Regions from separate parts of the Homo sapiens genome. Here region 1 is linked to region 2. Evidence: promoter capture Hi-C in 16 types of primary human blood cells and fetal thymus (Javierre and others, 2016). All regions are on one chromosome and are shown on one strand. The core of a region is centred on a gene start or on the middle of the fragment in contact, and the rest is flanking DNA. Distances in the headings are between cores, read along the strand shown. Region 1 has its middle 33 kb from the start of F11R. Region 2 holds the start of ITLN1 (intelectin 1).

Region 1 (4,996 bases), core at 476-2,975, 100 kb after region 2:
CTGTCTCTTTTTATTATTACTTTTTTAATAATAATAATAATAAAAGTGTTATGCGTGTCCACATAAGAGACCACCTGAACAGGCTTAGTGTGAGCAACATGGCTGTTTATTCACTTGTGTGTGAGTGGGCTGAGTCCGAGAAAGGGGTCAGCAAAAGGTGGTGGGATTATCATTGGTTCTTATAGGTTTGGGATAGGCGGTGTAGTCAGGAGCAATTTTTTACAGGCAGGGGATGGATATTACAAAGTACATTCTCAAGGGTGGGGAGGATGTTACAAAGTACATTCACAAGGGCAGGGAGGGTGTATTGTCACAAGGGCAGGGAGGATGTATTGTCACAAGGGTGGGGAGGAATGTTACAAAGTACATTCACAAGGACAGGAGTATCACAAAGTACATTATCACAAGGGTGGGGGAATGTCACCGTGGCTTGACCATAGTGCAGCCAGCTCAGAGGACCTTACAAAAAGTTTCATACTTGCACGTGTTTTCTTGTGGCAAAAATATAAAACATTTAATTTCTGGGATTCTTTTTTTTTTTTTTTTTTTTTTGAGATGTAATCTCACTCTGTTGCCCAAGCTGGAATGCAATGGCGAGGACTCAGCTCACTGCAAACTCCGCCTCCCAGATTCAAGCAATTCTCCTGCCTCACCCTCCAGAGTAGCTGGGATTACAGGCGCCCACCACCACGCCTGGCTAATTTTTGTATTTTTAGTAGAGACAGGGTTTCACCATATTGGCCAGGCTGGTCTCGAACTCCTGACCTTGTGATTTGCCTGTCTCGGCCTCCCAAAGTGCTGGAATTGCAGGGTGAGCCACCACGCCTGGCTGGGATCATCTTTTTTTCTACAGAGAGAAAATCAATTGTATCTCTACCAGGCAAACAATTTGCATTTGTATTAATATGAACAGGGATCATTTGTATCACTGTCAGGCTTCTACATATTTAACTTTTCTTTCTAGAGTTGCAAAACAGTACAAGACAAGGAAGGATACTGACCTGTAGAGAATCAGAAAACCCCCAGAAGCATCCTGTCCTCTAGTCTAGACAAATCCTAGTAATCCACTGGAAGGATGCCTGTATTTGTCCATTTCAGAAACTGTCACAATTTTTCCTTAACTAACAGCAGGAATTTTGATAGCCAAAAGTCATATTGTTTATTATCACTGTGGGAGCCAAGGCCTTTGGCTCCCTGAAGTTTGCTGAAAATCACTGACGCAAGGCAGATTAATAGGAAAAAAGGCATACAAACTTATTTAATATGTATACATAGAAGCCTTCAGAATGAAGACCCAACCTCCCAGTGAGGTGCAAAAGCTTATACGCCATCATGAGGTTACAGAAAGAATGAGTTTGGATCCTGCGGGAGAAAAGGAATTCTGTTGATGGGCAATAAATGATTACTAAAGAGAATGATTTGATCAGGAAACAAATTAACTTGTAAATAGTTTTCTTTGGAATTTAGATGACCATGAGAAGCAGGCATTAACTCATGAAAAGGTCTGTTCAGGTGTGGTTACATTTTTGGTCTTACAGGAGGAAAAGAAACCTACTGTTCTCCTTGGAGGGTCTGGATCTTAGGCAAATAAAGGAACTTCAGCTTTTTGGGAGAGACCGTGTGGAGCGGGGAAGGTCAGAGAGATCTTCAGGTTGCTTCTTCGGTTCAGTACTATATTTGGGGGTATCGATTTATAAACCCCAACATTACCTAATGTATTGTTCCCGATGAGCCTCCCTCCAATCCCTTTTCCCCTGTATCCCAATGGCCGGAAACTTGTGGAAATTCTTCCCAAGGCCTCTAAAAGCAGCACTTGCTTTTGCCTGGTTGCTAATGCAAGTTGTGAATTGCGCACGTGAATCACTATCACTGTCCATCCACCACTCTCTTGCTCTAAGGCATTGAAACGGCACTGCAGAGAGACGCCAGGTAACAAAGACTCTCCTTAACCAAGCTCTAGCATGGCTTCTAGCAACTTAAGGCCTTGTCCCTAGGAGGACCTCAGCCCCCCGCTTAAAATGCCTGCCTGAAAAAGCTCATCGCTGTCAGAAAAATTTACTGTGCATCCCAGCCCAAACCTAGCAATAGACACAGGCCCCTGAACTTCATCTTAGTGCAATTACTTAGAAAGAAAGCTTGCAATTAAAACATCTTTCTCTGCCTCTTTGAGATGTAAATCTTCTACCCAGAGCTATTTTCACTGGGACCTGAGAGTTTCTTTGAAATGCAAACATTTGAGGAAATAAATCTTGCTCCAGCTCCCAACCAGGTGGGTGCCTTGCTCTAACTTGCACTACTAGCTCCTGTCGTAAAAATAGGTGCTTATTTCTCTTCTGGACAAGAGCCAATTCACAAATCCAGATTGTCTAGTCACATGGAGCAATTCTCCTTAATATCTTCATGCCTATCCCTTAGCACATCCCAGCCTTCAAAAGGCCTCCTGCATTTTTTTTTTTTTTAAGGAAGTTAAGTTCAGTTCACCTTGGGCCCTCTTCCCTACTGCAATAGTTACTACTTAAAAAAACCTATCCTAGGCCGGGTGCAGTGGCTCACGCCTGTAATCCCAACACTTTGGGAGGCCGAGGTGGGCAGATCACCTGGGGTCAAAAGTTCAAAACCAGCCTGACCAACATGGAGAAACGCTGTCTCCACTAAAAATACAAAAAAATTAGCCGGGCGTGGTGGTGCATGCCTGTAATCCCAGCTATTCAGGAGGCTGAGGCAGGAGAATCGCTTGAACCCCGGACACGGAGGTTGCGGTGAGCCAAGATCGCGCCATTACCCTCCAGCCTGGGCGACAAGAGTGAAACTCCATCTCAAATAAATAAATAAATACCTATCCTTACTTCTTGTCTAAACTATTGTCTGGCTTTGTTTAGCTTTGACACAGGCTTTATAAGCCCACAAGTAACTTTAAGGCAAAGCCTTATAAATTCATCCAAGGCACTGACATTGAAGAATGTCTAACATTTCTGTGATATGCTTCAATCTCACTTCCAGCCTGTTCCAAACCTTCTTTTTAGTTTTCTACTTCCAGAGACTTTTTCCTTTGGTTAATCACCTTGTAATTCTTAGGTCTGATTCTCGAGCTAGCACATTTCAGCCCCTACAAATAAATGCCTTCTCCCAAAATGTGCAGCTCTTTTGCCATGCTACATTCTATTTGTCTTTCTAGTACTATTTTAATAAGTATCATAGCTCAAGCATGATCAACCCTCAGCTTCTTTATATGGTTATAGGAGTCTCTGACAAGCCTGAGGACAAGCATGTTCTGCATATTTTTTCTTGTCAACTTTTTTTAATGTGCAAAACATTAACATGGATCCAGAAGTCAAAACTAGACAAAATGGTAAATAAACTCAGAGAAGTAATACTCCATCATGTATCTATTTTTATTTTTATTTTTTTGAGACAGAGTCTCGCTCTGTCGCCCAGGCTAGAGTGCAGTGGCGCGATCTGGGCTCACTGCAAGCTCCGCCTCTGGGGTTCACACCATTCTCCTGCCTCAGCCTCCCAAGTCGCTGGGACTACAGGTGCCCACCACCACGCCCGGCCAATTTTTTGTATTTTCAGTAGAGACTGGGTTTCACCGTGTTAGCCAGGATGGTCTCGATCTCCTGACCTCGTGATCCGCCCGCCTCAGTCTCCCAAAGTCCTGGGATTACAGGTGTGAGCCACCGCGCCCGGCCGATCATGTATCTATTTCATCTAGACCTTATCTACCTCTTGAAATAACCAATTTAGTTTATTTTCCTTCCTGTGTTTGTTTCTGCAAAAATAAGCAAATATAGTATGCTTTCTTATTTCCCCTCCTTTCGTATCAAAAAGGTGGCCTTTTTTTTTTTAATTTTCTCATAGAGACAGGGTCTCACTTTGTTGCCCAGGCTAGTCTCAAACTCTTGGCCCCAAGCAATCCTTCCACCTCAGCCTTCCAAAGTGCTTGGATTATAGGTGTGAGCCACCATGCCCAGCCATTTGTCTTTTATTTTCCTTTTTTTTTTTTTTTTTTTTTTTGAGACGGAGACTTGCTCTGTTGCCCAGGCTGGAGTGCAGTGGCGTGATCTCGGCTCACTGAAACCTCCGCCTCCTGGGTTCACGCGATTGTCCTGCCTCAGCCTCCTCAGTAGCTGGGATTACAGGCGCGTGCCACCACGCCCAGCTAATTTTTGTATTTTTGGTAGAAACGGGGTTTTACCATGTTGGTCAGGCTGGTCTTGAACTCCTAACCTCGTGATCCACCTGCCTCGGCCTCCCAAAGTGCTGAGATTACAGGCGTGAGCCGCCGCACCAGGCGCCATTGTTTTTTTTAAATTGGGCAGCTTCCAGAACCTGCCCAGGCTCAGATAGACTCCCTATCAAGCTTTTGAATTTTTGCCAATCAGATAGGTAAGGTTAACTATTTTTATCCCCTCTTACTTATCTCCAGCGAACCAGGCCTGTTACGTAGCATCACTGTTTAGAAGTTCCATGTCAGACTGGGCGTGGTGGCTCACGCCTGTAATCCTAGCACTTTGGAAGGCCGACGCGGGCGGATCACTTGAGGTCAGGAGTTCAAAACCAGCCTGGCCAACATGGTGAAACCCCGTCTCTACTAAAACTACAAAAAAATTTAGCCAGGTGTGGTGGCGGGCGCGTGTAATTCCAGCTACTCGAGAGGCTGAGGCAGAAGAATTGTTTGAACTCGGGAGGTGGAGGTTGCAGTGAGCCGAGATCGCGCCACAGCACTCCAGCCTGGGCGACAAGGGCGAGACTCCGTGTCAAAAAAAAAAAAAAAAAAAAGTTCCATGCCAGGAGAGTCTGGCTCCACCTAGTGGTAGCATATCTAGTTGCAGAAAAAGTACCTTTTCTTCGTAGCTGTGCCTTTGTACTTACTTTTACTTACCTACTAAATTTCCTGCTCCTTCCTCCCTAAATGGAAAAAAAACCTGCATTCTAATCCCTTTCCTATGGGTTGCAGCATGTGCCACACTCTTTGAGGGAGGCTTCCATGTGGTCC
Region 2 (4,510 bases), core at 1,986-4,485:
AGTGGCACCAACCTTGTAGTCATCGCTCGTGGCCGCCTCTGCAGATCCAAAGGTGTTGTAGTTGGCCCAGTTGCCGTCCCCCTCTGGGTAGACTGCTTTGCTGCCCTGCTGACTGGACCAGCGATCGCCCACCGTGCACTTCCCACGCATGTCATTCTCGTGCACGCTGGCCACCAGGGTCCAGCCGCCACCCCCAGAGGTCATGTCACAGAAGGTCTGGTAGATAACACCATTCTCAGTGCGGAGAAAATACAGGCCATCTGTAGAGAGAACCAGCCCAGAGCCTCCCTGTCTGAGAGCTGAGGGTTCATTTCAGCCCCATGACAAGAAAGGCCCTAGGAACCAGAGACATGGCCTAAAGGCTCCTGTCCTGACTCACATCACTAAGTGCTCCCAGGGGTACTGGGGCCTCCCTGAGTTCAGAAGATCATGCTCCTGTAACTGAGGCAGAACATAGAATTGTATAAAATCCCAGTGACATTTTTCATAAAGTTAAACATGGAATTATTGTATGACCCAGCAATTCCACTGCAGGTCTATCCCCAAAAGAATTGAAAACAGGGCCTCAAGCTGATGCTTTTACACCAGTGTTCATTGCAGCATTAGTCACAAGAGCCAAATAGAAGAAACAATTCAAATATTCACCAACAGGTGAATGAATAAACAAAACATGGTGTGTGTGCATATATGTATCTGCAGTGGATAAAAGGGAATGAAATATCCATGCTACAGCATGGACAAACCCTCAAAACACTGTGCTAAGTGAAATAAGCCAGACACCAAAGGACAAATACCATATGACTCCAATTACATGAGGTAACTACACTAGGCAAATTCATGGAGATAGAAAGTAAAATGCAGCTACCAGAGACTGAGGGAAGAGAGTTATTGCTTAATAACTCCATGTTATTTTTTGTTTTGTTTTGTTTTTGTTTTTGTTTTTGAGATGGAGTCTCACTCTGTTGCCCAGGCTGGAGTGAAGTGGCACTATCTTGGCCCACTGCAACCTCTGCCTCCTGAGTTCAAGCGATCCTCCCACCTCAGCCTCCCAAGTAGCTGGAATTACAAACATGTACTCCACACCCAATTGATTTTTGTATTTTAGTAGAGACAGGGCCCCACCATGTTAGCCAAGCTGGTTTCAAACTCCTGGCCTCAACTGATCCACCCCTCTCAGCCTCCTAAAGTGCTGGGATTACAGGCCTGAGCCACCGCACCCGGCCCCTCCATGTTATTAAGTACAGAGTTTCTGTTTGGGGCACTGAAAAAGTTCTGCATATGGATAGCTGTGATGGTTGCACAACCTTGAAGGTAATTAATGCCACTGAATTGCACACTTAATGTTGCTTAAAATGGCAAATCTTATGTAAATTATAATATACATATACTTTACCATAATTTTTTAACTAAAAGACAAAAAGACTCCCAGAAGACACAATCCTGATACCCTGACTGAGCTCTGTTTGAATGTTTCATCACTCACCAAATGCACTAGGACATTCGTCTTTGATTTCCTTGCAGCTTCTGGGCAGAGATGGAGACGAAGAACAGGTCCATTCCTTGAAGTAAGTATTAGCCTCATCTAGGGAATACACAGGGTTTATTCTCATTCCCGGTTTGACACAAAACCTACCCTCTCCTATCACTAGTCCCACGCTCATTCCACCACTGTAGCAGAACCTCGCTGCCCGGGTGGTAAGGCCTGAGACAGCCAGTGTCATATCCACTCAGCCCATCAGTGTCACATCCACTCAGCCCATCGGCATCATATCCACTCAGCCCATCCGACCTGACAGCCAGCACAGGCTTAAAGTCTGCCTCCCGCCACAAGACCTGTCCTTGTGCTGGGTCCTGCCCTAAGCACTGAGTAATCAAAGACATTAAAGTTCCCCAGCAAGAGCTTGCCTCTAGAGGGAATTGCTAACAAGTCAACAGAAAATTGTATTGACAAGAATAAATGGTAGAAGAAAGGCAAACTCAAGAGAACAAAAGAAAGACTCTGAGGTAACAGTGGAGAATGGAAACGCCAGACAGTAAGCGGGGCAGTTGCCTGGGAGAAGAAGGCAAGACGGGTTGTCTCATGTCTTAGTCACAGAAGACCTTCCAGTCCAGGTGACATCTTAGCTTATTCTGAGAGAATAAACATGATTTATCAGTAGGAAGCCAATCCAAGGCAGGGAAAACAGCATATCCAAAGGCCTAGAGAAAAAAAAAAAAATACAGCGTAGTCCAGCTGTAGAACTACAAGCTGCTTAATATGGCTGAAACATGGGGTGTGAAGTAGGGAGTGGTGAGACTAATCTCTACTCCAAAAAGTCTGCAAACTATTCGAACAGTCTAGGGGAAAGCTGTGAGGTCAGAGGTGACTGACCTCAGTTTCCTCATACCTAAAACACAGTTAATAAACAGTGCTTTTGCAAAGATGAAGTAAGAAGATATTTCGAAACAGCCTTTTCTTTAAAAAAAAAATTTTTAGACGTGAAGAAAAATATAAATTTTAAAATGTCATTGTTATTCTTGTTGTAGAGAGGAAAACTGTGGAGAGAACATTCTCCAGGCACAAAGCAGACCATGTAGTTCCCATGGAAATCCCACAGCCAAGGCCACAGGAGTGGGCAGTGGCTGGAAGGTGACACAGTTCTTGCCACAGCCCCCTCAGGGCCACACAAAAGCACAGAGCCTGGACCCAGGACATGCCTCAAGCAATACCTTCACTGCCACAGGCCAGATTCCGCCAGAGACCAGAAATCGGCACTCAGTCTACATGCAAGCCAGCCGCTGTGCATCTCAAGGACATGCTCTGTGTCCTGGGAGAGACCAGGATCCCGGAAGTCATCCAGCTGAAGGAACTGCTGTCCCTAGCAGCGTGACTCACCTGTACTCCATCCTCTGGTGGTCGCTATGAGAAACAGCAGGAAGCTGAGTTGGTTCATTGTAATCTAAAGAAAGCAAGATGAAGGTCACCATCTTGGCCATCATTTTTCTCTACATCCCTGCCCCACCCCTGTCCAGTCTTACAAAGACTCCAAAACCCCTTGCCTTTTGTTTAAACTTCACACATCTCTGAGACCAAAAGCAGACCTAAGCTGAAAACAGGATTCCCCCAACTCACAGACCTTGTCTGAGTCTCAGCTGCACTTTCCTTGGGTACAGAGAGCTCCTTCACTCCCTCCCTCCACTGCGCCCTGGAGCTCAACAGAGTGCAGCTTTCTCCAAAAACGCTCCTGATGTGGAATGAGGTGCAGAAAGCTTTATGGAGGAAGCCCAGTGGGGCCAACCAAGGTTTCCAGCCTCACCCTCCCCTGGCACAATGCCCAGTGCAGGGGAGGCTTCTGGTTATCTCGGGGAGGTTATTTATACAGTGGAATTAACAGGTTCTAAAGAAAAAACCAATCCTAAGAATCACCTGCTAGCGTTGTTCCTGGATCTGGGGGTTTCATGGACCTGTGTCAAGTAGGAAGTAGACGAAGAGATTAACAAGAGTTGGTGTTGGTTTTGGGTTTTTGTGCCTTTCTTTCTTGCAAAATAAAAACTTTCTCTAAATTAAGCATCTGTTGGCTTGGCACATTGGCTCAAATCCCAATACTTTGGGAGGCCAAGGCAGAAGGATCACTTGAACTCAGGAGTTTGAGACCAGCCTGGGCAACATAGGGCAACCTCTTCTCTACTAAAAATAAAAGTAAAAAAATTAGCATGGCATGGTGGTACTTGCCTATAGTTTCAGGTGGGGCTGAGGCAAGGCAAAAGGGTAACTTAAGTCCCAGAGATAGAGGATTCAGTGAAATATGACCGTGCCACTGTACTTCAGCTTAGGTATCTCAAAATAAATAAATAAATGAAATTAATCATTGGCCATAATTATCAATTCATAGAAATAGAAAAAGGAAATTTTAACAAAATGGGAAAGTGATCATTTCTGAATAAATTGGTAAAAAGGAATGGAGGGGAAAGAGATACAAAACACACAAAAAAATACGAATAGAAAAGTTTTAAAAAATATATAAATCTTTAGTTTGAATAATTTAGTTTCACACAAAGACTCACTACTTTGTCTTTAATTTTGTCATTTTGCCACAAACGAGGGAAAATTTACTACAGGATTCATTTGAAACTGAATCAATACGAAACCTCTCTGCTGCTTCGAACCTCCTGTCTTATTCCTGCTCCTATGTCATGAAGTTCTCAAATGCTACCCTGCAGCTGTAATAGAATTACTCAGTTCTTCCCCAGTGATATCATACATTTAATACATAATGTCATTATAGCATTAATAATACTGCAACCTTTTCTTACAAAGATTGTGAATATCTTTTTTGTTAAGCTAATATTTCCTATTTGTTGGTTCAAAGTACTGATTTGCAAAAAATACTCACATATTGATAGAAGAAAATAAAATAGCACCCAAGAAGAAAAACTGCAAAAAAAAGTTATACTTTTGTAAATTTAAAATCTATTAGAAGCTATTTGCTCTGTGTATCTGGAAAATAATTAATTAAATAAAATTAAATGT

Evidence for each region. The method cuts DNA at HindIII sites, captures the fragments that hold promoters and counts their contacts. A CHiCAGO score of 5 or more calls a contact.
Region 1: a fragment that was not itself captured here is called in contact with the fragment with the promoter of ITLN1 in region 2 in 4 of 17 cell types (megakaryocytes, erythroblasts, naive CD8 T cells and 1 more); the score reaches 6.9 in megakaryocytes.

What each region holds. Positions count from the first base shown.
Region 1 is chr1:160,985,628-160,990,623 of GRCh38, forward strand. No RefSeq gene overlaps it. Among named protein-coding and RNA genes, the nearest start is that of F11R, 33 kb to the right of the region's middle. RefSeq lists a silencer at 1,772-2,066. The HindIII fragment of the contact is 816 bases long and covers 1,318-2,133 here.
Region 2 is chr1:160,881,945-160,886,454 of GRCh38, forward strand. ITLN1 (intelectin 1) reads right to left here and starts at 3,236. Exons shown (of 8, transcript NM_017625.3): 1 at 3,117-3,236; 2 at 2,876-2,939; 3 at 1,484-1,582; 4 at 13-260. The coding sequence starts at 2,933. The HindIII fragment of the contact is 4,692 bases long and covers 1-3,247 here.